6 separate regions of the Homo sapiens genome follow, and all the other regions are linked to region 2. Evidence: promoter capture Hi-C in human tissues and cell types (Jung and others, 2019). All regions are on one chromosome and are shown on one strand. The core of a region is centred on a gene start or on the middle of the fragment in contact, and the rest is flanking DNA. Distances in the headings are between cores, read along the strand shown.

The links. Contacts are between HindIII fragments. The study calls those that stand out against the background at their distance.
Region 1: a fragment that was not itself captured here is called in contact with the fragment with the promoter of SNAI1 in region 2 in 1 of the 25 tissues and cell types used here (spleen).
Region 3: a fragment that was not itself captured here is called in contact with the fragment with the promoter of SNAI1 in region 2 in 1 of the 25 tissues and cell types used here (bladder).
Region 4: a contact is called between a fragment that was not itself captured here and the fragment with the promoter of SNAI1 in region 2, in 2 of the 25 tissues and cell types used here (lymphoblastoid cells and mesenchymal stem cells).
Region 5: a fragment that was not itself captured here is called in contact with the fragment with the promoter of SNAI1 in region 2 in 2 of the 25 tissues and cell types used here (lymphoblastoid cells and spleen).
Region 6: a contact is called between a fragment that was not itself captured here and the fragment with the promoter of SNAI1 in region 2, in 1 of the 25 tissues and cell types used here (lymphoblastoid cells).

Annotation. Positions count from the first base shown.
Region 1 is chr20:49,573,865-49,578,368 of GRCh38, forward strand. No RefSeq gene overlaps it. Among named protein-coding and RNA genes, the nearest start is that of PTGIS, 8.0 kb to the left of the region's middle. The HindIII fragment of the contact is 3,141 bases long and covers 1-2,830 here.
Region 2 is chr20:49,981,675-49,986,112 of GRCh38, forward strand. SNAI1 (snail family transcriptional repressor 1) reads left to right here and starts at 1,306. Exons shown (of 3, transcript NM_005985.4): 1 at 1,306-1,467; 2 at 2,150-2,677. The coding sequence starts at 1,386. RefSeq lists an enhancer at 1-648 and a silencer at 801-1,320. The HindIII fragment of the contact is 23,979 bases long and covers 1-4,438 here.
Region 3 is chr20:49,696,325-49,701,145 of GRCh38, forward strand. The region is part of intron 1 of B4GALT5 (beta-1,4-galactosyltransferase 5); the gene reads right to left. Among named protein-coding and RNA genes, the nearest start is that of B4GALT5, 15 kb to the right of the region's middle. The HindIII fragment of the contact is 5,555 bases long and covers 1-4,626 here.
Region 4 is chr20:50,327,622-50,332,435 of GRCh38, forward strand. No RefSeq gene overlaps it. Among named protein-coding and RNA genes, the nearest start is that of LINC01271, 8.7 kb to the left of the region's middle. The HindIII fragment of the contact is 9,236 bases long and covers 1-4,814 here.
Region 5 is chr20:49,471,478-49,475,978 of GRCh38, forward strand. All of the region lies in intron 1 of KCNB1 (potassium voltage-gated channel subfamily B member 1), which reads right to left. Among named protein-coding and RNA genes, the nearest start is that of KCNB1, 8.9 kb to the right of the region's middle. The HindIII fragment of the contact is 4,785 bases long and covers 1-4,501 here.
Region 6 is chr20:49,616,475-49,621,182 of GRCh38, forward strand. No RefSeq gene overlaps it. Among named protein-coding and RNA genes, the nearest start is that of PTGIS, 51 kb to the left of the region's middle. RefSeq lists a silencer at 4,173-4,222 and an enhancer at 4,353-4,422. The HindIII fragment of the contact is 7,433 bases long and covers 1-4,708 here.

The DNA.
Region 1 (4,504 bases), core at 10-2,509, 410 kb before region 2:
CTACACACGTCAAGTGACCAACGCATCCTGGTTTGCCCAGACTTTCCCAGTTTTAGCACTGAGAGCCCTGCATCCTGGGAAACCTCTCGGTCCTGGGTAAACCAGGAAGGTTGGTCACGCTATCACCACACCTCAGCGTAGCGTGTGAGTGGCCAGAGATTGGGTCAGAGCTGTGGCAGCCACCTTGGAGCCTGAGGAGAATCTTTGCTAAGTCACACAATTAATTAGCCACCCCTGGAACTGTGCTGCAGTAGATTAGATCATAGTCTCCAATTTTTACCCACTCCCTGTATCAGAATTAGACATTCACGCCCTTGGCTGCAGGGTTGCGGTGCCTCCCACTATGAGCAGAGAATAGTATCTCCCTGACTCAGTGATGGTGGACTCGGGCCTGTGACTCAATTTGATCAGTGGAGGATGAAGAAATGACCAGTTGCCAGTTCTGAGCAGAGGTTTCACGAGGAATCACATATTTCCACTTGACCTTGGTTTCTGCCTTGAGCCATGACCCACAGGGCAAACCTGAGCTCAACCTGCAGCCTGAAGTAGAGAACCCCTAGCTGACCTGCAGAGGTCCGAAGAAGAAAAATGTACGTGTTGTTACAAGTCATGGAGATTTTGAGATCTTCTTAAGCAACAAGAATTGACTAATGTATACTTTATCTCTGAACTTTTTAGAATCCTTTTGGTTGAATGTTCTTTGTACCAGTTAAATTAGAATAGGCTGCTTTCTACTCTTGGAGCCTTGGTACATCTGTACAAGAGGATGATGACGACAAGGCCCCCCTCCCATGGTGGTTGGACGAATTCAAGAAGATCTTGTGTCTAGTGCATGCAGTAGGCACTTAATAAAAGAGATGATGCTAGGCCGGCTGCAGTGGCTCACGCCTGTAATCCCAACACTTTGGGAGGCTGAGGCAGGAGGATCATGAGGTCAGGAGTTCGAGACCAGCCTGGTTAACATGGTGAAACCCCGTCTCTACTAAAAAATACAAAAATTAGCTGGGTGTAGTAGGGGACACCTGTAATCCCAGCTACTCAGGAGGCTGAGGCCGGAAAATCATGTGAAACCAGAAGGGCGGGGGTTGATCGCGCCACTGCACTTCAGCCTGGGCAAAAGAGTGAAACTCTGTCTCAAAAAAAAAAAAAAAAGAAAAGAAAGAGAGATGAAGCAAGGCTGGGCTCAGTGGCTCACGCCTGTAATCCCAGCACTTTGGGAGGCTGAGATGGGTGGATCACTTGAGGTCAGGAGTTCAAGACCAGCCTGGCCAACGTGGTGAAACCCCGTCTCTACTAAAAATACAAAAATTAGCCAGGAATGCTGGCGTGCGCCTGTAATTCCAGCTACTCAGGAGGCTGAGGTGGGAGGATTGCTTGAACCCGGGAGGTAGAGGTTGCAGTGAGCCGAGATTGTGCCACTGCACTCCAGCCTGGGCGACGGAGTGAGACCCTGTCTTAGCAACAACAACAACACAGCAGCAGCAGCAACAGCAACAACAACAAAAGAGATGAAGCATAATTCTTTCAGCACATATTACCAAGTATTTATTTGCCAACACTGTGCAGGCCTCTTTATCAAGAATTTTACTGAAGAAATGAAAGACAGAAAACCTCTTCACTTGGTCTTTTTTATACATGAAGAGAAAGCAGGTCTGAATCAGAGGCAGAGGGTTGGAAGAAATGACCTGTTTTCTGCCATCTGGGCCTTGCTGCTGACTGTCTCTAAGAATTTGCACAGGCCTGGGCCTTTGGAGATTTGAAGGTCTCTAAAGTGCAAGGATGTCAGCTGCAGGGGAGCCATCCTCCAGCATCCTTCCCCAGGAGAGCCAGGATTATGTAGGGAATGTGCTTGGCTAAGAGCCCAGAGGTGGGGCAGCTACCCAGATGCAAACATGGCTGGGCCAGGCGGCCTTTCGTTCAGCGTTCCCAGGCTAATTCCACCTAGACCTTGTCTTAGCCTGTGAGAGGATGTTCTGGAGTGGTCTTGCCCCTCTTCCCAGGCTATCTGCCAGAGGTGGTGGGTGCTACAGGAGAGGGACTCCAGCAAGCTTCTCATCCTTTGGTTTTCCCAGGACGGGGGACAGGTGGCCTCACGGCTCCCAACCAGCTGCCTTGGCACTTTGTAGTGGAAAAAATGATGAAGTCAGACCTCAGTCTCCTCAACTCCCTGCTGTCCTGCCTGAGAGCCAGCCTAGCATGGAAGGCAAGGAGAAAAGAGACCCATGTTGATCTGTCACCCAGACAGACCCTGAGTGATGATGCTCCTGCCACCCTGAAGCACCCCAAGAACCTCAGAACTTCTGGCTTCTCATCTTGAAAATGGGACAGCAGTCATAGCTGCTTTGCTTATTATGTCAAGGAGTTACTAAAGAGGATCCAGTTAGATAGTGGGGGTAGAAAAATGGCTGCCTAAGGCCACATTTACCCTCTCCTTCTAGAAATTATACCAGAGCATCAAGAATAATGGAAAAACAAATATACAAAACCAAACCACAAACTCCATTTTTAGCAAAGCCAGGAGAGACATATAATTCATCGGCTTCAGAGTACGTGTGAAGCAGCTAAGACAGGGCAGAAGCCACATGGGAGTGGTGAGTGGGCTCAGTGATAGCAAATCTCAGAAAGCATCAGCAAAACTACACTTCCTAGGGATGAGGGCTTGCCATGAGATGAAAGTTATGTTCCTTCTTTATAAAAATGAATGTAGAAGCTTGGGTGAATACGATTAGCAGCAGAAGCTCTCCTGGATCTCGTTTGGTTCAGAGAAACAGAGGAGGTATAGTGAAGAATTACAGAGAGAAGACATATTTGCAGGAAGCAGTCTGTCTCTATGGCAGCAGAGGAGAGCCACAGTTACAGAGCCCATGAAGCTACCCTAATTCTTCCTTACACCCATAGGAGCAATCAGCAAAATACCTGACCCAGGAAAACCAAGCCCTTCCAATGACAAGCTTTTGAAAAAGTGTAAAAGCCTTGATACAAAGATATTATGATAAATTATGAAGAGCAGAAAAATCTACCAATAGATGAAAGTGTTAACACAAAATGGATGAAAATTATATCCAAATCATATTGGCATAAATTCAAAAAAGAATTGAATGGAGGCTGGGTGTGGTGGCTCACGCCTGTAATCCCAGCACTTTGGGAGGCCGAGGCAGGTGGATCACCTGAGGTCAGGAGTTCAAGGCCAGCCTGGTCAACATGATACTCTCGAGGCTGAGGCAGGAGATCGCTTGAATGTGGGAGGCAGAGGTTGCAGTGAGCTGAGATCATGACATTGCACTCCAGCCTGGGCAACTAGTGAAACTCCGTCTCAAATTTAAAGAAAGAAAGAAAGAAACATCTTAGGAGAACTGAATGGAGCAACTACCTCTGTGAAGGAGGACAATAAGGAAACTGAAGAACTCAAAAAGAAGGCAGGCAAAAGGAGGTAATGAACATGAAGGGTTAGCACTCAGGAAAGAAGTAGAAAGAAAAAAAAATATCAGAAATGAAGACAAAATTGGAGGGGAAGGAAATAGGCCCTGCAGAAAATACAGCAAGGACACGGTTAACAGAAATGGAAAAAGAGGAAAAAAATGAGACAGAAATAAAGAAAACATTAGAAAGACTAGAAAGAAAATTGGCTGGGTGCTGTGGCTCATGCCTGTAATCCCAGCACTTTGGGAGGCCAAGGCAGGCAGATCACTTGAAGTCAGGAGTTCAAGACCACCCTGGCCAACATAGCAAAACCCCATCTCTATTAAAAGTACAAAAATTAGCCGGGCATGGTGGCACACACCTGTAATCCCAGCTACTCGGGAGGCTGAGGCACGAGAATCACTTGAACCCCAGAGACAGAAGTTGCAGTGACCTGAGATTGAGCCACTGCACTCTAGCCTGGGCGACAGAGCAAAACTCTGTCTCAAAAAATAAATAAATAAATAAAAATAAATAAAGGTGTGAGCATCCATGCACCAGATAACACAGCAACAGATAGTTACAGAGCAAGGACATTTTAAGTCACTTCTCTCAGCTCTTGAAATACCAAGGGAAAAAAAAAAGGAAATAGAAAGTCAAAATAACATAGTGAACCACAAACACTGGCTACCTAGTAAGCCACAAAGAACATGGCAATAATTTTTTTAAAAGCAGAATAAAAGTACAATAGTCTCAGATCGCAATGCAACAAGCCTGTGTGACCTCCATTCCTCTCCCTCCCACCCCAGCACCTCCCCAGAGGGCAATAATCCCCCAGCCCCACTTCACCAGGCATCAGCTCCTGTGTCTGTTCCATGTTAGATCATGTTAGATCTCATCTTGGCCAGACACGGTGGCTCACGCCTGTAATCCCAGCACTTTCAGAGGCCGAGGCAGGTGGATCACCTGAGGTCAGGAGTTCAAGACCAGCCTGGCCTACATGGTGAAACCCCATCTCTACTAAAAGTACAAAAATTAGCTGAGCATTGTGGCAGGCACCTGTAATCCCAGCTACTTGGGAGGCTGAGGCAGGAGAATCGCTTGA
Region 2 (4,438 bases), core at 56-2,555:
AGACCTGTGAGGTTTATTTCAGAGCCACCCCCGGGCCTGGTACGCCTCCCAGGGAAGCTGGGGTGGGGGTGCAGCTGCCCCTCACTTGGGCCCACCCCACATGCATTCAGTCAGGGCCCCTATGGAGCCGTGTTACAGCCTTTAGACACAGGATCGAGGATCTTCACGGGGTGAGGAGACACGCCCGGCCCATGCCTTCTTTCTCCCGCCAGCCTACAGGGATCTTTTTCAACGAAACTCTAACCAGGTCCCTCCTCAGCTGAAAATCCTTCGGTGGCTCCCCAGTGCCCTTGAGGCAAAGTCCAAACTCCTACGAGGCCCTGGGGCCCAGCACATCTGACCCCTCCGGGCATGCCCATCCCACCCCATCCCTGGAAGCTGCTCTCTAGGAGTTACTCTGAAGCAGTTGCCACTTCTTCCCTCGGGCCTTTTCCCTTGATAATTCTTCACTTCCTCTGGGAAGTCACCCCGACCCCCTGTCAGGTGACCCGCCTCTTAACGGTCGCCGCGTCCCGTCTCTCCCCCACCAAAGCACACTTCCCTTTGCATTGTAATTATCTGTTTACTTCGTCTGTCTCCCTCACTGGACCAGAAGCTACCCTTCGGGAGAGGCTCTGAGTGTTCTGTCCGGGGCTGTGCCCTGGCCCCAGGTACAGTGCCCCACACGTGCTGGGCGCTCCGTAAACACTGGATAAGGGAAGGAACGGGTGCTCTTGGCTAGCTGGGCCAGGCTGCTTTGCAAAAAGGCCGTGGCATTTCAAGCCGCCGAGAGCCACGTGCGGTGTCCCTTTCCTCGCTTCCTCCCCAGTGATGTGCGTTTCCCTCGTCAATGCCACGCTCTCCAGGCGCCAGCCGGGCGGAGGAAATTTCCGCCCCCTCCCAAGCCCGAGGCGGGGGCGGGCGTCGGAAGGTCAGGTGTCCCGGCCGGCGCGCAGCGCCAGGGGGCGTCAGAAGCGCTCAGACCACCGGGCGCTGAGCCGGTGGGCGCGCGGCGTCCTGCCGGGGTCCCACCTCGCAGAGGCCTCGCTTCGCTCGACGTCCCGCCCCGGACAGCCCCAGCACCGGGGACGACCCGCGCTGCGCCAGCGAACCCCGCCTCGGAGGAGTCCCCGCCCGGGCTCTCACCGCCACGCGGCGCGAGCCCGGCCAGCAGCCGGCGCACCTGCTCGGGGAGTGGCCTTCGGCGGAGACGAGCCTCCGATTGGCGCGGAGGTGACAAAGGGGCGTGGCAGATAAGGCCCCGCCCCTCCCACCCCCCACCACCCCCCCGGAGTACTTAAGGGAGTTGGCGGCGCTGCTGCATTCATTGCGCCGCGGCACGGCCTAGCGAGTGGTTCTTCTGCGCTACTGCTGCGCGAATCGGCGACCCCAGTGCCTCGACCACTATGCCGCGCTCTTTCCTCGTCAGGAAGCCCTCCGACCCCAATCGGAAGCCTAACTACAGCGAGCTGCAGGACTCTAATCCAGGTGCGTTGGAGGGGTTCTGGGCTCCAGGAGGTTTGGGGGAGACAGGCGAAGGCTGCGTGGGGGGCACCTGAGGGAGGCGGCCTGCCTGAGCCAGGATCGAGTCACAGGATGTTTTGTGGACCATTGCGGGCTCGGGAGACCGGGCAAGTGGGTCCCCAGTTCCGGGGATCTGTCTGGGTGGTTGGGGGAGTGCCGTGTAGAGGGCAGGGGTCTTCAGCTTGGGGGGCCTTTGTAGCCGGCGAGAGGCGGAGGAGCTCCGCAAGAGGGGAAGGAGAGGAGGCCTGTGTCAGGAGGGCCCTCTGGACGCTGCTGGGGAGAGTCCGGAGTCCAGAGGGTTGAGGGGAGGGGTGGGGAGACGAGATGTGTGTGAGGAGGGGGATTGGGGCAGGGTGGTGGCTCCGGGGCTGGGATGATGGGGTTCTGGCCTCAGGCTGGAGACTGGGGACTTAGGAGAGGGAGATCAGGAAATGACCTCCTTCAACTGGGGGTCCTACGTGTGAGAGACTCAGATTGGGTGACCTGGGCGAGGAGGGCAGGAACCTGGTCTGTCCTGTGGATAATTTTTTTGATCTAATTATGTATTGAGAATCGGCCCCACCCAGCCCCTGGCCAGCGGTGGGCTCATGTTTGTTGATTGAGTGAATGATTTAATTAACGCCTGACTCTGCTTTTTCTCCCTCAGAGTTTACCTTCCAGCAGCCCTACGACCAGGCCCACCTGCTGGCAGCCATCCCACCTCCGGAGATCCTCAACCCCACCGCCTCGCTGCCAATGCTCATCTGGGACTCTGTCCTGGCGCCCCAAGCCCAGCCAATTGCCTGGGCCTCCCTTCGGCTCCAGGAGAGTCCCAGGGTGGCAGAGCTGACCTCCCTGTCAGATGAGGACAGTGGGAAAGGCTCCCAGCCCCCCAGCCCACCCTCACCGGCTCCTTCGTCCTTCTCCTCTACTTCAGTCTCTTCCTTGGAGGCCGAGGCCTATGCTGCCTTCCCAGGCTTGGGCCAAGTGCCCAAGCAGCTGGCCCAGCTCTCTGAGGCCAAGGATCTCCAGGCTCGAAAGGCCTTCAACTGCAAATACTGCAACAAGGAATACCTCAGCCTGGGTGCCCTCAAGATGCACATCCGAAGCCACACGCTGCCCTGCGTCTGCGGAACCTGCGGGAAGGCCTTCTCTAGGCCCTGGCTGCTACAAGGCCATGTCCGGACCCACACTGGTACGTGCCCCTCCAGGCGCCCCCACCGTTGCTCTCTCTGGCAGCTTTTGTGAATCTGGGCTTGCTGTTCTCATTCCCAAAGCTGTGGACACTGAGGCCCCGAGTCTTCTAACTTCTAGCTCAAGTTCCAGGGCCTGGCTCTCTGGAAACGTTTGGCAGAAACTTTCTTCATCAGCTAAGCAGATGGGCAAAGCAGACACCTTCCCAATCCCCTGCAGCCTGTTTCTCAGCCAAATGGGTCGGAGCTGGATATGGGAAAGGTGCAACCAACACCTTGCTGTGGGGGCCAGGTGTGAAGGGGCCCACCCGGCCACACCCTCTCCCGGGTCCGCCCCCTCCCTAGCCAGACAGGATGTTGTCAGACCCCCCGCCTGGCTCTGAATCCTTCTTTGAGAACTTTCTCAAAACTTAGGCTGATGTTTCTCTTCTGTGAGCCTCATTTTCTCTATCTTTCAGATGGGCATGAGAACAGCTTTTGGGGTTTCTATACAGGCTAAATGCAGGAATGCATATGGGAAGCACCTGGCAAAGTGCCGGTACCTGCTAAACTCTCACAAAAATGGTTCCTTGGCATTTGCTCTGCTTCCTTGCTGTGTGACTTTGGGCAAGCAACTTAACCTCTCTGAGCCTTAGGGGAAAACTATGATAGCATATGTTTTAGAGAGTGGCTGTAAAGGTGGCTAATCACTTTATAGTAATTTATTATACCCGAACGGTTCTCAGGTCGGCTTCCCCACCCCCACTGAATCCTAGCACACAGACCAGGAAACGGCATCTTTGGGGCAGAAAACACAATCACGTCTTTTGAAAATTTACTAAATGTGTAAAAAACTTTCTGGACATGGAGAAAAGGTAGAACTTTTTAGAACTTGAATGGTGGCAGCCACTGTGCCTGGAGCTGCTCTTTGGAGAGTGACAGTTGAGGGAGAAGATTCCACAGGGTTCAAGCTGGCCAGGTTCTGCCATTTCCTGGCCTGGCGCCTGACCTCTGAGCGGTGAGGGTTAGTGAGGTGTCTGGGAGGACTGGCAATTCGCGGGCTTTATTGGCATCTTATTCGACTAAGGCTACCCATTTCTCTTCCTTCGTGCACCAATTGCTCTGATTTTAACATGTAAAGGTCCAACTGCCTGGCCTCCTGGGTGCCTGCCCAGCTCACAGGGCTCTATTTTGGGACAGTTGAACCCCTCAGGGTGCTGCAGTCCTGCCTGCCTCTCTCACCTCCCATCTGGACATTATTTTAATGTAAAGGCATGGCTGAGACACAGAAATCCCCTTGAAATGTATCATTGCGGTCCTCATTGACTCCCATTGTGTGCCTTAATGGTGGGCCCAGTGGGTGGGGGCTGGGAGGGGTGGAGCAGGTGCATGGGGCAGCGGTGCCCAGCACCTGTTCCAGTCACAGCTGCTGGCCCACTGCATGGCAGGCCCCTTTAATCCGGGGATATCGCATGTACAGTGCCCCCCTCGGCGCCCTTTGTCCCCGCCGGCCTGGTGCCGATTTCACACTTGCCAGGAGTACCATGAAGGCGTCTGGGGGGCGAGGGATCCAAGGAGTGGGGGTCTGTGCCTCCTGCGTGTGCACACAGCCCCCGCCCCCAGCCCATCATGTCCTAGAATGTCTCCTTCCCCTTTTGTTTGGGTTCAGGTCTCATCACACTTTGGGCACTTACTGTACAGGAGGGTAGTGCTCAGGACTTCACCAACAGCCCTGGGAAGGGAAGGGAGGTGCTGTCCTAACTCTGGTCTTACAAATGGACTCC
Region 3 (4,821 bases), core at 599-3,098, 280 kb before region 2:
TAACATTTAATGAGATTTGAAATTCATCTATTTAAATTTATTAATAGTAAAGGAATGAGATTAAATAGACTTGACATCGAAGGGGCTAGAATTTCCCATGAAGTTTTCCACATTATCGGTAAAGACAGCAGGTATGTTTTCTTTACAGCTTTCAAGAATCCCTTGCCAGAAATAATCTTATATTAAGACAGGATGTTTCGTTATAGTGGGGAAAACAGAACTGGCCAGGAAAAGATCTTATAGCAAAGAGATTGTAAAAGATTATTCTAGCACAAATACAGATTTAAATTGCTGCCATCCTTTTTCTCCCAGCCCAGCAATTCCTGAGGTGCAAAATTTTCAAATATCTGTGTATACAATGACAAGGACACAAGTGAAAACACTTGTGATGAAAGGGTTATGAATAAATTACTGCAATTTCCTTTTATCAACCAAGTTGATTTAATGGTTTAAAAATATTGTTCAACAGAACAAAGGTGGTAACATTTGTTAGATCCTAATTAAACGTGATTCATTCTGGAATGTTTCTGATGACACAGCTTACATAAATAATCTACTGGGAAGTCTACTCAAAATTCACAATGAAGAGTCGGTTTTTCACACATATAATACAACCTGAAACTATAGCTTCAATCTATGCAGATGGTTTTACTATTTTAATTATACAACTAATTAATACCAAAATTAGATCGATGTTGTTTAATTTGTGGCTACTGAGGAATGTTACTATTCACAAATCACAAAATCTGTGCCAAAATAAGTCTTCAAAGGGATATTGTTGCCTCCTTACCCTTCTAAGCTTTGCAGTGGGCTTTGGTCAAAGCTGACATAAACAGCTAAAGAAATTAACAACAGAGTCTCAGAAGACAAGGCCAGGGGAGCCAAAAGGACACAGGTGCTACACACCCAGGCAGTTGTTGTCTGCTCCCAGAGCACCTGACTTCAGCAGCCACAGCACCTGCTCCTCAAGCGCAGCGGCGCCTTTGAGGGAGCACAGCCTGGAAGGTTTACCCTTCGCAGAGACGCTTGCTCTTGGACTTCTGGCTGTACATTCTGAGGGTTCAAATGAAGGATGGGACAATGGGAAAGCTTAAATCCTCTGGAAACGTCACTGTGATCAATGGCTTCAACCCTCCTCTACCTCATACCAGTTCACTGGAGCTGCTAACACTAAGTTTCCTTCTTTATCCGCCCATCTCTATTCCAGTGGAGCCCCGTGATTAAGGGATGGCAGAGGAAGGGGACATGTCCTTTTTTTTTTTTTTTTAACAGAAAAACACTCATTTAGATACCTGGTTTAGTAAGACATCTGAACAACATGAAACCCAACTATGTAAAAGCTTTAAAAATCCAGGTTATGAATTAGCCTAAACCTGTGCTTATGTTCCATTCTGTTTAGAGGAAGGGGGATGGAATCCCTTTCACCTTTATATTTTTCATGACAAGTCCATGGTCACATCAAAAATTACTTTTGTCTTTAACACAGTTGAAATTATTAAATGTTATCTAGACCTAACCAAATCCTATTTCCTTAATGTTATATTCAGGACAGTGAAAAAAATACTGTTTTCTTTTAGCAAAGTCTGACTTTTAAGGCTCAGTTTTTACCTGATTAAATAAACTGCCCCTGCTTTTGAGGTTAGAAAAATTACTTTTGTTCATGGGGTCCATTATACTGTACTATTAAGTTTACTTTTATATGTTTGGAAATTTCCAGCCGGGCGCGGTGGCTCATGCCTATAATCCCAGCTACTCGAGAGGCAGAGGCAGGCAGATTACCTGAAGTCAGGAGTTCAAGACCAGCCTGGCCAACATGGCGAAACCCCATCTCTAGTAAAAACTACAAAAATTAGCCGGGCATGGTGGCACGCACCTGTAATCCCAGATACTCGGGAGGCTGAGGTGGGAGAATTGCTTGAACCTGGAAAGTGGAGGTTGCAGTGAGCCGAGACGGTGGCACCACACTCCGGCCTGGGGGACAGAGCAAAACTCCATCTCAAAAAAATAAAAAAAGAAAAAAGAAAATTTCCATAATAAAATGAAACTCTTAAGGAAAAAACTGCTTTGAACATAAAGCCAACCCAAAAAGTAGCTCTTACCTAAAGTGAATTTTCCCTAGTGCCAAATGAAATTCAAATAAATCCCAATCTTCTAATTCACACAAATCTTAAGATTTCTAATACTTTAAACCAGAATGAAAAAGTCAGGTATGCCAAATTAACAATCGAAGAGAAAATTAATCCCACACCAAAGCCAAAACATTGAACTTCCTCCCACTCTCGCATTCACACACACACACAAGCATGAACCACACAATGAAGGATTCCAGTTGCCCCATCCAGACAACTGGACGCACATCACACACCTCCTAGTCATCCAGGGACCATCTTGGCAGCCTGTTTCTCATCACTACCTGCCACCCTGTGCCTGTGTTGTGGACGAGGAAGGCACGGGTAGTAGCCTAGCTTTTTATTTTTTTAAATCTCAGCAATAGAGGCAAGGTTATTTCTACCTTACATCCAAGAGTATGGAGCACAAGACTAGCTGTTTATTAATAACATGCTTATTTTCCACACCAACCACACGGTTTTCCAATTTCACAAAGTAAATACTTCCTCATCCCTCTTTAGAAAAGATGAAACAATTTATCGTAGCCTAAGCAAAAACCACCTATCAAAGCAAAGACTGGCAAGCAGATTCAAGACATAAAGGTATAGCTTTTACTATAAATTTGAAACCAACAAGAAAGCCATTAACCTAAATATTTTTCTAATCAAAAATCAGAAATGACGTTAATAGCAACATATAAGAATTACTGTATCTACCACACTTAGAATGTACTGGGGTAGATGACAATGACAATCAGTACTGATTGCCTTATGTTTATCAACTTTTTCATCTACATTTCAGGTTTCAGTGCAAGACAAACCATTAATACATTCATGACTAGCCATTTCAAAGCATTATTGTATACATACTGTACGACACAAAGTGCTTAATTGTAACTTAAAAGGTTAAAACCCATCTTGAATCCTAAATGGGCAAAAAAAAAAAAAAAAAAAAAACCCCACTAGTCATTTGCCCACAAACCAGGCCCCATATAACCATCAAGCATCTGACTGCATCGGACATGATTAATCTGAAACTGTGCTATGAATCATACAGCAGTCCTCCCTTATCTTCAAGGGATACGTTCTGAAATTCCCCAGTGGGTGCCTGAAACTGCAGGTAGTACCAGATCTAAATACATTGCTTTTTCCTATACACACATACCTATGGTAAAGTTTAAATTATAAATTAGGCACAGTAAAAGATGAATAACAATGTAAAAGGAAAATAAACTTGGGGACCCCAAACCCACTAAGTCAAAGAGAAAAGTCAAGGTAGGAACGGCATCATGCAAACCTACCTCCCTCACAATCTGCCCAATAGGAAATTCCTTGTGGACCTCAACATCCTTACCCTACAACCACTCTGCTGAATTTCACCCTGACAACGTAAATTGACAGCTTATCTTCACAGGTATAGGACAAAGGACAGAACTTAAAGTCATTCCTCTGCTTACCTGAGACAAATGCATAATCTCATCACTTCCTCTGCCCGGTAAGTATATTTTGTCTTATGTAAAAATGCAGATTCACTGAGCTAGATGAATGCATAAGGGACTATTCCTCCGCTGCCCCCCACCCTTGCCCGCCACATGTGAATAGCTGATCAAAGACTCAAAAGAATGTAACCATTTGCCTCCTATCTACCACGCCTTCCTAAAATTTCTCCCCCTTTAAATACTGAAGCCCTCAAAATCATCTTAGGAGAAAGGCACAGACCTTGGGCCTGGGTGCATGCCCTTAACCTTGGTAAAATAAACTTCTAAATAAATTGAGACCTGTCTCAGATACTTTTTGGTTTGCAACAAATATAAAATGGTTTTACAATTTGGTTTACAACAACAACAACAACAATAAAATGGAACAATTATAACAATAATAAAAGTAATTAAGTAAAGTTAATTTTTCTGAGAGAGTCTCACTCTGTTGCCCAGGCTGGAGTGATCATGGCTCACTGCTGCCTCAAACTCCCAGGCTCATGCGATCCCAAGTAGCTGGGGCTACAGGCATGTGCCACCACACCTGGCTAATTTTTATTTGTATTTTTGTAGAAACAAGTTTTCCCCCAGGTTGCCTAGGCTGGTCTCAAACTCCTGGGCTTAAGCGATCCTCCAGCCTCGGCCTCCCAAAATGCTGGGATTACAGGCATGAGCCACCACACCTGGCCATAAGATTAAAATTCAAAAGTATTACAAATAATAAAATTAAAATAAGGGTCACTTGAACACAAGCACTGTGACACCACGATGATGATGTGATAATCCAGACGACTACTAAATGTGTATACAGCGTGGGTATGCTGGACAAAGGAATGACTCACATCCCAGGCAAGACAAAGGGGGACAGAGCAGGATGGTGAAAGATTTCATCACGCCACTCAGAATGGTGCACAATTTAAAATTTGTGAAATGTTTATTTCTGGAATTTTCCATTTAATATTTTCAGAACTCAGTGAAACCACAGAAAGTGAAACTCTGGATAAGGGGGTGACTACCTTATTCACTATCATTCCTGGCAATTAAAGAATGTTAACTCCAACTGAACACCAGATGAATTGGCCCTCAATTAAACACATCTGTCCAGAAATATAAAATCACCCAAAACTAAAAATTTACTAAAGTGAAGCATGCTCCTTAGAAGACTTAAAAAATAACAGTGATACACTGTCTGCTTTGTTCATCACTGTATCCTTCAAGTCTAGCACACTGTAGGG
Region 4 (4,814 bases), core at 109-2,608, 350 kb after region 2:
AAATATGGAAGGATGCTAAACTCATTACATGACCCCCTTGGGGAATGTCCAGGATGGACATCAAAGGGGATTTTAACTACAAGCTGTAACTGTAAAAAATATTTTTAAGAATATAATAATGGGTTAATTGTATAATTAAAATTAATATTTAAGTGGCAAAACTTTTAAAAGAAAACCAAAGGAGTCGTTAAGTCCCCATTATTCATTCAGCAAATATTTACTGAGCACCTACTTTGCAATAGTTGTTGGAGACACTGGATAAGACAGATCCAGTCTCTATCTTGGTGGAGCTGACATCATAGTCGAGAAGACAGGCAATAAAGAAGCAAACAGGGAAATAGCAGATGATTTCAGAAAGTGTTCAGGAGTATTCTGAAAGCAAGCAAGCCATGTGCAGGGGCACAGTATGAATGGGGACAGGGTTATGTTGGTGTGGGAAGTCAGGGAAGGCCTCCCTGCAGTGATATTTGAGCTGAGCCCTGAAAGAGGAGAAGGAGCTGGAAGAGCACACTGAAAGAGGACAAGGAGCTGGAAGAGTGGGGACCAACTCGGTACATGCAAAGGTCCTGTATTAGTCCATTCTCACACTGCTAATAAAGACATACCCAAGATTTGGTAATTTACAAAGAAAAAGAACTTTAATGGACTTACAGTTCCACTTATAGGTCTGGGGAGGCCTCACAATCATGGCAGAAGGTGAAGGAGGAGAAAAGGCACGTCTTACATGGTGGCAGGCAAGAGATCATTGCAGGGGAACTGCCCTTTATAAAACCATCAGCTCTCTTGAGACTTATTCACTATCATGAGAACCGAATGGGAAAGACCCAACCCCATGATTCAATTACCTCCCACGGAATCCCTCCCACTACACATGGGGATTATGGGAGCTACAAATCAAGATGAGATATGGATGGGGACACAGCCAAATCATATCAGGTCCTGAGGCAGGAATGGACCAGATGAGCTGGGATGAGAACCCAAGCAAGCTTCTGACTTGGAAACCGAGGCTCAGAGAGGGATACACACAACTCAAGGCCACAGCACTGGACGTGGTATAACTGAACGAGAATCCAGCTGTGTGCTGGTGCAGAGCTGCCTGTACAGGAAGGAGGCCTCTGAGCTGCTCAAAGGGCTCTATCTGCACTCCCCCACAGAAATCCCCTTATGATCAGAGCCAAACATTGGAGACCCAGCCCCCAGGCTTGTGCCAGCCTTGCCCTGCCAGCCAAGGCCAGTATCCCCACTGAGGGGCATCTGAGGGCTCTGTACACTTTGCCTCTGAGTTGAGGATCAATAGAAGCTACCACTGCTGTTTTACCTAATTATATAACAGTGGCCAGGGAGGAAGGTGTCAGGGATAGACGCTTTACCGGCACCATCCCATCAAATCCTGCTAAGAACTCCATGAAGGGGTATTATTATTCCCATTTTGCAGTTGGGAACACTGAGACTCAGAGAGATCAAATGCCTTGACTTCAGAATCTGTATTTTTTTTTTTTTTTGAGACAGGGTCTGGCTCTGTTGCCCAGGCTGGAGTGCAGTGACATGATCTCAGCTCACTGCAATCTCTACCTCCTGGGCTCAAGCCATCCTCCCACCTCAGCCTCCTGAGTAGCTGGGATTACAGATACATACCACCTAACCAGGCTAATTTTTGCTTTTTTTTTTTTTTTTTTTTTTTGTGGAGAGGGTGTTTCTCCATGTTGCCCAGGCTGGTCTCAAACTCCTGAGCTCAAGAGATCTGCCTGCCTCAGCCTCCCAAAGTGCTAGGATTATAGGCATGAGCTACTGCGCCTGCCCAGAGCCTGCATTCTTTACCTTTACAGTCTAGACCCTGCTCCTATAGATCCCCAGGAAAGAGCAAGACCATCTTTTTTAAATGCCAGAGCCTCAGATAGGAAAGGATGATCTCACCCAGGACTTCATTATACAGATAAGAAGACCAAGGTCCAAAGAAGGAGAGGAACCATCCTCTGACTATACAGAGCTGGGTCTCCTGCTCCCAGAGCCCCTCCAGCTTTACCCCCTGCTCCCCTCCCCTTCCTTCCATTCATGATGACCTCACTGGTCTCTAGGCTGTCGCTCCAACATGCTGAGCTCAATCCTGCCTCAGGGCCCTTGTACTTATTCCCCTGCCAGATCTAGCCTATCATTTCTTGTCTTCATTGACCACTCCATCTATAGTGGCTCTGCGTGTTGCTTTCCTACCTAGGTTTATTTTTATTCCTAGCATTTATCACCTTCTGTCATTATATTACGTATTTATATAGTTTCTTTTTGTCCACTACCTGCCTAGAATATTAGAACCATGAGAGCAGAGACTTTGTTCACAGCTGTATCCCCAGTGCCCAACCCAGGGCCTGGCCTCCATGATGCTCAATATGTGCTTGTGGGATGGATAGATGGGTGGATGAATGGATGGATGAATAAATGGGTGGAGAAATGGATGTATGATATGAGGGAGGAAGGGTGGGATAGATGGATGAATGGATGGGTAGATTAATGAGTGGATGGATAGATGGATGGATGAATGAATGGATGGATGGATGGATGGATGGATGGATGGATAGATGGTTGGATGGATGTTTGGATGGAGGGGTGGGTGGATAGATGAGTGGATGGATGGATGGATGGATGGATGGATGGATGGATGGATGGACAGCTGAATGGACGGATAGATGGTTGGATGGATATTTGGATGGACGGGTGGGTGGATAGATGGGTGGGTGGATGGATGGAGGGAATGAGGAGTGGATAGATGGATGAATGGATGGGTAGATGGGTGGGTGGATGAATGGATCAAGGGAGTGAGAGAGGGAAGGGATGGATGGATAGATGGATAGAAGGGTATACTAATGGGTGGATGAAAGGGTTGACGGATGGAAGGAATGATGGGCGGATGGGTGGGTGAGTGGATGGGTAGATGGGTGGGTGGATAGATGGTGGGCGGATGGACATTTCTCCCAGCGTCGCTTCCCATCCCTGTGCTGTGGGTCTCTCACGTGGCTGCCCTGACTTGCCTCCCCTGGCCCCAAGCCCGAGCAGGGAGCTCTGGGGGCTTCCACATGATTGGGCAGGATTTCTATTTCTCACCCTCCTCTGAGGCTGGGCAGACAAAAGCCTTTGTTCTTCCTCCCTGCCTGGCCCTGCTCCAGCCAGGGTGGGAAGTTGCTGGCAAGTCAGCAACTTAACTTTGCTGCAACTGAACTGAACTTTGAGGCGTAACCTGTCAAGCGAGCCCCGGAGGCTTCTGCGGTCCACAGGGGAGGGGCATGATGGAGGCATGGTGGGGAGCACCATGGCCAGGCACAGAGATGATCCCTATCTGGGTGGACCCCCAAGTCTCCCAGAGTAGATTCATTTTTTGAAGCAAGGAGGGGAAGCTAATAGATGAAGCTGGCTCTGGGCTCTCTGTGGACAGCTGGGGACGGTGTTTCTTTTTGTCCTCCAGAGTTGTTCTGCAGGGTGAGGGGTAAGAAAGGGGGCCGCTACTAAGTGCTCACGGTGGTCCTGTGAGGGGGTGTCACGGTCACCATTGCACAGAGGGGAAAACTGAGGCTCAAAGAGACTAAGTAACACGCCCCCAGGATCACCCGGCTAGAGTATGGAAGGCAAGGTATGGACCTGGACAGTGTGGCTCAGATAAAAATTTCTCATGTCCCATGTCACCCCGTCACACTTGGCATAAGAGCCACAGTTCTTCCCTAACACTGCCTTGCTGGATGAACTCAGGTAAGCCTCTTTCCCTCTCCGGGTCTTAGTTTCTCTCCTCTGTAAAATGAGAGGCTTGGCTGGGCCCTAATTTAGATATTGCAGGATTCTCTGGGTTACTGGGATCACTGGGTTCAACTTCCATAATAATATGAAGTCTCAAAGAAATTCTCAAATTCTCTCACAGTCCTGTGGCCACACCCGGGACCCACAGGCCCATTAGACAGAGCAGCAAACTAAGACCCTGACTGGCACCATCATTTCCTCCAGAGCCCTAGAGTGTGATGGGATCGCTGTGTCTCCGCCTGAACCCTGTCTGGAGTTCCAGGTGTCCGCTTTCCCCCAAGGCTGGGCACTGCACGGGAGAGAGAGTCAGAGAAAGCAGAATCTTGGGCAGGCGCTGCTGACCCATTGGGTGGGAGGTCTAAGAATCAAGGCTGCAGGATGGGGGATGAGGTGGGGGGGCCCTTTTCTCTGGAGTGGGACCCTCCCTTGGAAGCCAAACTGAATGGTCAACCATTACTCTGCTGGGCTGTCACTAACCACTCAAAACCAGTGGCCACTTGCCAATCTTCTGTCTTTGTCCAGGGCAGAATTGAATCTTGTTCAAATAAACTCAAAGGCCAGGTAGTTCACTGAAGCAATGACTGGAGAATTTGGCACTCTCCAGCCTGCCAGCCCTACCCAAACATCCTCAAGGTATCTGCATAACCAGCTCATTGCCCTGCCTACTCCAACCAGAGAATGTGGGAAGAAGCCCAGGACCTCTGTGCGGTGGTGGAGGCCCGCTTGGCTGCTCCTGACCTGTGTCTCTGGCCTCTTCAGCCTTTCCTCCAAATTCCACTCTGTGCACAAGCTGCTGGTCACCTCCCTGCACATGCTGTGTGGCTTCTGGCCTCGGGACCTCTGCACATGCAGTCTCCTCCACTGAGTTCTCCCAGAAACAGGCCCTCAGACACGAATTTGAGTGCAAGGAGTATATTTTGGGTGGTGATCTCAGGAAGCACCCATAGCAGGTTGGGTAATCAAAATAGGGAAGAAAGAAAATAAAATAAATGTTATTAAACCAATCACCGCTGTGGGCAACTAGACCTCAGACCCAC
Region 5 (4,501 bases), core at 1,023-3,522, 510 kb before region 2:
TCTCACTTGCATTCTGCCAAGCCGTCCTGAGTGGAAGAGGAAGGGATGAGCCATGCTGGGTGTGTCAGAGATTGCCCCTTATCCTGGCAACAATGATAACAGCAGCTGCCCCAGATGGCGACTCCCTCTGTTCCCAGCACTGCACATGGTGCTCCACAGCTTAGCACCTCTGATCTCCGCCATCCCATGTTGTCTTCTGTGGCTGGGCTTCCTGGCCGTGTGCAGAATCACCCAGGGCAACAAATGGTGTGGGGAAAATGGGGATATCCCCATGCAATGGAATGAAGTTGGTTCCTTATCTTACACACCACATGCAAAGACCTAAAATAAGACTACAACTGTCAAACTCTCAGAAAAAATTTGGGGAAAAGCTTTATGATTTCCCCCTATTGCCAAAGATTCCTCGAATATAATACCAAAACACAGGCAACAAAAGAAAAAACAGACAACTCGGTCTTCAACAAAATACAAAACTTCTGTGTATTGAAGGACACAATCAACAGGGTGCAAAGACAACCTATGGAATGGAAGAAAATATTTGCAAATCGTATATCTTATTAGGGATTAATATCCAGAATATATAAAGAATTCTTACAACTCAATAACAACAACAACAACAAAAACCCCAATTTAAAAATAGGCAAAGTACTTGAGTAGACATTTCTCCAAAGAAAATACAGTAGTCCCCCCTTATCACAGCAATATCACTTTCCAAGGTTTTAGTTACCTGCAGTCAGCTGTGGTCCAAAAGTATTACATACTATAAGATATTTTGAGAAAGAGAGACCACTTTCACATAGCTTTTATTATAGTATTTTGTTGTAATTATTCTATTTTATTATTAGTTTTTGTTGTTAATCTCTTACCGTGCCTAATTTATAAATTAAACTTTATCATAGGTATGTATGTGTAGGAAAAAACATATAATATACAGGGTTTGGTACTATCCGAGGTTTAGGCATCCTGATAAGGGGGTGCTAGTATATACAAATGGCCAAAAAACACATGAAAAGATGCTCAGCGTCACTAAACATCAGGGAAATGCAAACCAAGACTGCAATGAGATACCACCTCATGCCCATTTGGATAGCTACTAAAAAAAAAAACGTAAACAAAAAAATAGCAAGCATTGACAAGGATGTTGATATAGTGGCTATTTGTCCCCTCCAAATCTCATGTTGAAATGTGATCCCCAATGTTGGAAGAGGGGCCTGCCTAGTGGGAGGTCTTTGGGTCATGGGGGTGGATCCCTCACGGATGGCTTGATGCCCTCCTTACGGTAATGAGTTCTTGTGAGATCTGCTTGTTTAAAAAGGCCTGGCTTCTCTCTTGCTCCCTCTCTCTTCATGTGACACACGTGCTTCCCCTTTGCCTTCTGCATGACTGTAAGCTTCTTGAGGCCCCATCAGAAGCAGATGCCAGCACTATGCTTCTGGTACAGTCTGCAGAACTGTGAGCCAAAATAAAACTCTCTTCTTTATAAATTACCCAGCTTCAGGTTTTTCTCTATAGCAATGCAAAATGGACTAATACAGATAGGAAGAAATTGGAACCCTTGTACACCATTGGTGGGAATGTAAAATGGTAACAGTCACTATGAAAAACAGAGCAGCAGTTCTTCAAAAAATTCAAAATAGAATTACCATATGATTCAGCAATTCCACTTCTGAGTATATACCCAAAAGAATTGTTAAAAATCTAGTTGGTTTCTGCTTATCCATGCCCAGAAGAATTGAAAGCATGAACTCTAAGAGATATCTGTACCCCATGTGAATAGCAGCATTATTCACAATAGCCAAGAGGCTGAAGCAACCAAGTGTCTTTTGATGGAGGAATGGATAAACAAAATGTAGTGTATACATACAATGGAAAATTATTCAGTCTTTAAAAGGAAGGAAATTCTGACACATTACAACATGGACGAAGCTGAAGGACAGCATGATAAGTGAAATAAGCCAGTCACAAAAGGACAAATACTGTATGATTCCACTTATATGAGGTACCTAGAACAGTTGAGTTCAAAGGGACAGAAAGTAGGAAGGGGGTTGCCAGGGCCTAGGAGGTGGGCCCAGGAGAATTTAATGGGCACAGAGTTTCAGTTTTGCAAAATGAAAAAGTTCTGGAGATTGGTTGGACAACAATGTGAATATACTTTACTGAACTATACATTTTAAAACGGTTAAGATGGAAAATTTCATATTATGTGTATTTTACCAGAACTAAAAAGAAACCACTTAGGGGGTGAGTTTCAACTGTGGGGCCTAGGCATGAGTATTTTGCAAAGCCCAGGTGATCCTTATGTGCAGGCAGCATGGAGAAGCGCTACTCTGTGAGGTGTGCCCCAGGTATTACCCCCACCTCCCAGTCTCAGAGAGGTGAGGCGCCTTGGGGGCTCATATAGCCAGGAAGCAGAGGAGGTGGGATTTGAATCCAGGCCTGTACCCAGGTCCACAGAAGTGTGTCTCACATGGCAACATTACATCTTATTTGTTATTTATGTCATCAGAGAAAACATTTAAGGAGCATTGGCGCCCTGGATATTAACATGAGAATTCTAGCTCCCACCCCACCCACTCCCGATACGGGGGCTGAGAGATTCCTCCCATTTCTGGCCCCACCTAGTCATGCCCACTCCTGCTGGAGACACCAAAATCAAGTTGATTTCACCTCAGGGAGAAGGTAGGACCTTATGCATTTAGTTTATCTATTAAAATAATGCTTAATGCTAAATCTGTCTCTCCCATAGTCCCATCCAGGAGCCTTTGGGGGTAAAGTCGTCCTAGATCCAGAGCTAAGAACACTCCTAAGTCATAGGGTGATTCTGGACAAATCTCTCTCCTCTCAGCACTGCCCCAGCATGAGAAGGGAATACTGGGATCTTGCTTCTCACTTTCTGAAGGTCACTCATACAACTCAGAGATCAAAGTCATGGGCTGGGCAGTCAGGGAGTCCTGGGTGGGATCTGTCCCAGCCTTCCATTCACTGTGTGACCCTGGGCCAGACACTTCCCCTCTCTGAGCCTCAGTTTCCACGGCTGTAAGATGAGGGTAGTTATCCCTCCCTTATGGGGGGGCTGTGAAAATCAGATGTGATGGGGCATTTAATGCCCTTTGCACTATGCCAGGCAAGCACATTGTAAGCACTCAGTGTTAGCTGTTGCTGCCACCACTGTGGTTTTCATTTTATCTAAGAGACAGAGATGAGGCTGACTGTGCCCTGCCAGACCTAGAATTTCTTCTTTTACGACAACCTCCTAGAGGTTCTCTCTATCGGGGGTGGGCTGTCTATAATACAACACCAGGTCATTCTGAATAAATGATATGTCCTACAGAGCTTTGGTTGGTTTCCCCAGAATCTCAGATCCTAAGACAAGGTTCTGAGTACAAGTGGCTTATATGATAAGTGATCCCAGAAAACTCTGGAAGAGGGGAGGGAACATGAGACAGGGATAGGAAAGAGGTCAAACAGGGTCTGTTATCAAACAAGTAATTGCTGTGAGCAACTGAAGCTGCCCTGGGGACCAGTGTAGAACACACACCTCTGAGTTATACCCCCAGCCAGGGGAGAAGCACGTACACATCGTCCCCATCAGCCGGCAGGTGAGTATCCCACTAGTTCCTGCTGGGGTGTTAGTGCCCTGCCTTTACTGGACTCCAGTGGCCAGAGAAAGCCTCTAACCTTACAATGAGCAGGTATCATTTGATGAGAGCAGTTTTTTGAAAAGGAGCTTATTTATCTTGCAGGATTGTCAGGAGGATTACATGAGAGGACAGTAAAAAAGAAAAAAAACAACAACAGCAAAACCCAACAGTTATTGAGAGCTTTCTACATACCAGGTCCTAGTCTAAGTGCTTTGCATACATTAATGCATGTAACTCAATCCAATGAGGCAGGCACAGTGATTGGCCCAAAATTGCTGTTGGCTGAAGGAACCAGGGCACAGAGGGCTGCAATAGTTGACCCCAAATCACATGGTTAGTGAGTAGAGAAGCCAAACTCTGAACTTGGGCAATCCAGTGCTAAGGTCAAGTGCTTCCCATCCTGATGACATTATCAAGTACAGGAAGTACACAAAGTGCTGGGTATGGAGTTGGTGCCTAACGCATGCTTGTTCTCTTCTAGTTAGTTAAGCTTTGGCCAACCCATTCATTTGACCATCTCTTTTTCTTCCTAGCATTTCACATTCACACAGCAAGTCGGTGAAAGATCAGGGGCCATGCCCAGGCCTTTCTGGCCCCGCCACCCGTACCCGCTGAGGCTCAGGGATCTTTCTGTTACTCCAGGATGTTTGACCAGGATCATCTCTTAGCAGCTGGTCTCTCAGGGGATTTGAAAGGCTATGATGGGCTGTGTGATCCTCAGCAGGTCACTGGAGCATCCTGGGTCTCTGGGTTTCTTTATCCTGTGGGGATGTGGGATTTCTCAGGCACAGCTTCAACTCTGATCATGTGCTATCATCCTTCATCCTTCAGACAACCCTGTGGAGTAGGTTTTATTATCG
Region 6 (4,708 bases), core at 1,017-3,516, 360 kb before region 2:
CTTGTCATTCCAGAGCCTCTGCCTGGACCTGGAAGCCCCTCAGACTCTAAAGCTCTAATCCCCCCCCAACCCCCCCAGCAAAGTGCAGCATTCAGGACTGAGCCTCAAGGGACCAGCCAGGTCTGATTGTGAACCTCAGAGCAAGGCAGGATTGTCAGTGCAGTAACGTGAGACTGGTGGGGCCTGATGGCCTCCTTGGGGACAGCCTGGGACAATCGCAAACAGAAGCTGGCTCTGTGCTGGAGCTTGCCCTGTCCTGGGGACCTCTCCCACCCAGGACGAGCTCACCTCAACATGTAAGTCACCTGGGACCCGAGGAGCCCATTCTAGGGATGTAAAACCTGAGGCCCAGAATGTCCCTCTAACGTGCCCAAGGTCACACAGAGAGTGAGCACACAATTGGTACTACTGGAACCCAGTTGCCTGTCTTGTGCAGCCTCAGTTTCTTTTCCTCCCGGGATCTCCTGTGTTAAAAAAAAAAACATACAACGTGGCCGGGCGCAGTGGCTCATGCCTGTAACCCCAGCACTTAGGGAGGCCGAGGTGGGCAGATCACCTGAGGTCAGGAGTTCAAGACCAGCCTGGCCAACACAGCGAAACCCTGTCTCTACTAAAAATACAAAAATTACCTGGGTGTGGTGGTGCCTGCCTATAGTCCCAGCTACTTGGGAGGCTGAGGCAGGAGAATCACTTGAACCTGGGAGGCAGAGGTTGCAGTGAGCCCAGATTTCGTCATTGCGCTCCAGCCTGGGCAAGAGAGTGAGACTCCATCTCAAACAAAACAAAACAAAAACAAGAACAAAAAAACGCACAGTGTACTCTCTTGACCCTCATCATCTTCCAACAAGCACCCTGGTCCTCCGTCCCACCTAAGGCTGAACTTCTGGTGGAAGCTGTGCATACTCCCCCACCCACTTTCACACCCCGCCACCCTCCTCACCCTGCACCCTCCTCACCTCACCCCCTCTCCTCACCCCACCCTCTCCACACCCCACCCTCTCCACACCATCACCCTCTCCACACCATCACCCTCTCCACACCCCACCCTCTCCACACCATCACCCTCTCCACACCATCACCCTCTCCACACCCCGCCCTCTCCACACCATCACCCTCTCCACACCCCACCCTCTCCACACCATCACCCTCTCCACACCCCACCCTCTCCACACCATCACCCTCTCCACACCCCACCCTCTCCACACCCCACCCTCTCCACACCATCACCCTCTCCACACCCCACCCTCTCCACACCATCACCCTCTCCACACCCCACCCTCTCCACACCACCACCCTCTCTACACGGCCACCCTCTCCTCACCGCCACCCTCTCCTCGGTGCCCTTGAGCAGGCCTTCATCCCCTGTGTCACCAAATGGCTCTTGGTGTTGTGATCCTTGCTGCCAAGTCCCAGTGTGGGATCCCGTGCTCAGAGCCACTTCTCAGCAACGTTTGACACTATTGACCTCCCTCTCCTTCTCGAAACATCCTTCTTGAAACAGCCTCTATTCCTGACACTAGATGCTCCATGGGCCCTGCCTCTCCTCCTCCTCCCTGGCAGCTCCAACTCAGTGGCTTTAAACAAACATGTGTTCTGATACATCTCAGACTCCCAACAGCATCCTTGATCTCTCTCCAGGGCTCTGGACTTGAATGTCGAGTTACCTACTTGAAATATCCTAAAAACACAGCCTGGTTCCCCACAAAGACTTATTTCATTCCTCCTTCCTTATCTCCGCACTCTCCAGTCTTTGTTCCTCAGTGACACCACCCTGTAGCTCAAGCATCAAAGTGACGTATCATTCTCAAGTCCTCTGTTTCCCTCCCACCACCTCCAAAATTTGTCCTGAGTTTTCCATTTCTCTGTAACCCCATGGCCACCACCCTGGTCCAGGCTGCTACCGTCCTCACCCTTGACCTCCTTGCTGTTTCTTTTTGGGGTTTTTTTTTTTTTTTTTTTTTTTTTGCTGCTACATTTGCTTCCCATGCTGCCGGGGGAACTTTCAGAAACATAAATCAAAACATGTCACTTGCCTGCTGGAAACCTTCCAGTGGCCTCTGGCTGCCTTTCCAAAGACTCCCAAGTCCTCACATTGGCCTACAAGGCCCCATCTTCTTCTCCAGCCTTCCCTCCTCCCTTCCTATTCAGCCACATTGGCTTCCTTTCATGTTCTCCAGCAAGCCAAGTTCTTTCCTGCCTAGGGGCCTTTGCACTTGCTGTTTCTTCTGTCTGTAACTCTCTTCCTTCTGCTCTTCCTATAACTGCCTCTTTCTCTTCTTTTAAAGCCCAGCTCAACCATCACCTTTCCAGAGATCACTTCCCTGATCATCTAATTGAAGGACCTCACCCTTCACCCTGGTCACTCTCAACCCTATCATCCTGTTTATTCCCTTCATAACTCAGCAATGTCGGGAGCTCACTTACTTGTTGACTTGTTTATTGTCTATCCACCTCTCTTCCCCAGAATGTTGGTCCCATGAAGGCAGGGATTTAATATCTTTCTTATTCAGTGCATTAGATGGAAACCAGGTACACACAGCACAGTGCCTGGCACATAGAAAATGCTCAATAAATATTGGATGGATGGATGGATGGATGAGATGGATGAATGAATGGATGGGATGGATGGGATGGATGGATGATAGATGGATGGGATGAATGGATGGATGTGATAAATGGATGGTTGAGATGAACCGATGGATGAATGGATGGGTGGATGGGTAATGAATAGCTGGAATGGGTAGTTGGATAGATGGATGATGGATGGGTGGATGAGATGGATGGATAGATGGATGATGAGGGATGGATGGATGAGATGGATGGATAGATGGGATGGATGGATGGGATGAATGGATGGATGAAATGGAGGGATGAATGAATGAGATGGATAGGAGGGATGAATGAATGGGATGGATAGGATGGATGAATAGATGGATGAATAGGTGGATGGATGAATGGGTGGGTGGGGGATGGATGGATAGGGTGAATGGATGGATGGATGAATGGATAGTTGGATCGATGGATGGATGGATGGATGAATGAGATGGATGGGATGGATGGATGAATGAGTGGGATGGATGAGATGGATGGATGGATGAATGGATGTGTGGGTGGGGGATGGATGGTTGGGATGGATGAATGGATGAGATGAATGGATGGATGAGTGGATGACATGGATGGATGGATAGATGGATGGGATGGATGGATGGATGGATGAGTGGATGGGATGGATGGGTGGATGAATGGATGGATGGATGGATGGATGGGATGGATGGATGGAAGGACGGATGGGTGGGTAATGGATAGATGGGATGGGTGGATGGATAAATGGATGGATGGAATGGATGGATGGATGGATGGATGAGTGGATAGGATAGATGGCTGGATGGATGGATGGATGAGTGGATAGGATAGATGGCTGGATGGATGGATGGATGGGATGGATGGATGGATGGATGGACGGATGAGTGGGTAATGGATAGATAGGATGGATGGATGGATGAGAGGATGGGATGGATGGGATAGATGGATGGATGGGGGATGGATGGATGGATATGCAACCAGATAAACAAACCTAAAGTACACCTTTAATCATGCCACTCTCCTTCTCCAGAACCTAACTTGGCTGCCCACTGCCTATGGAATAGACAGCAAACTCTCCTCTGGGACATTCAAAGCGTTCTGAACTGATTCCAAAGTGGGGGTGCAGTGAGTGATAAGTGAGAAGATAAGTCATTCATACTGAAGCATTAGGAAGTGGATCAGTTAACCATCTCTCTCCTTGATCTGGGCATGAGCCATTTGAGGGCAGGGTCATCTTCATCTCTCTGTCTAGACATTGAGCCCTTGGTCAGCAACATCAGAGATGTCTGATGAATAAATACATGACTGAGTGAGCGAGTGAGCAAGTGAAAGCAGCCCCACTCTGCCCCAAAAAGCCAGCAAGCGAAAAGCAGGAAGCTTCAGACCCAGAGGGCTGAACAGTTCAAATTTAGAATAGGAGAGCAGTTTCACTGTTTCAGGTCACTGCTCCTGGCCAAGGTTTCAAAAGTATGTAAAGCTGGGGCTCTGCAGCAACAGGAAAATTGAAACTTACCAGAAACTAGACTGGCAGTGTCTCTCGGGAGGGACTGATTTGAATGCCAATGACCTGATCCTCCAATTATAAGAGCAGCACAGTGTCAGACTAAAAAGCACACTCCCACGTAATTGCAACCAAAGCCACAAAGACTCCCACAACTAAGAGTGGCACTTCTTCAGTGTCCCGTCCTGCTGACACACTTTTGGTTTTTGCAGACCTTGGGCCCTTCCATTGTGACTCTTGGTTTGCAGGTGGAAGAGGAGCAGAGCTGTGAAGAGGAGAGCTTGGGGTCACCTCAGCTCTGCCAGAGGTTCTGTGACCTGCCAGAGGCTCTGGGACCTTCCCTGAGTCATCATCTGTGGAGAAAGGACTTGCCACTGAGTGGTGTGTTCTACTTGTACCGCTCTTCTGATCGATCAGCGTCTTTGATTGGGTTCCCTGGGAAACAGACTCAGAGAGCTGGGCACGCAGGTGGTTTACTGGGGAGTGCTCTCACGCACAGCACCTGTGAAGGGGGTAGAGTGGTGTGGGGGGCAGTGATGTGGGGCTGGAATGCAGGCACACCAGAGGCCTCACCAGAGCTCAGAGGCTGGAACAGCCCTTCTGAGTTGCCTACATCAGGACCAT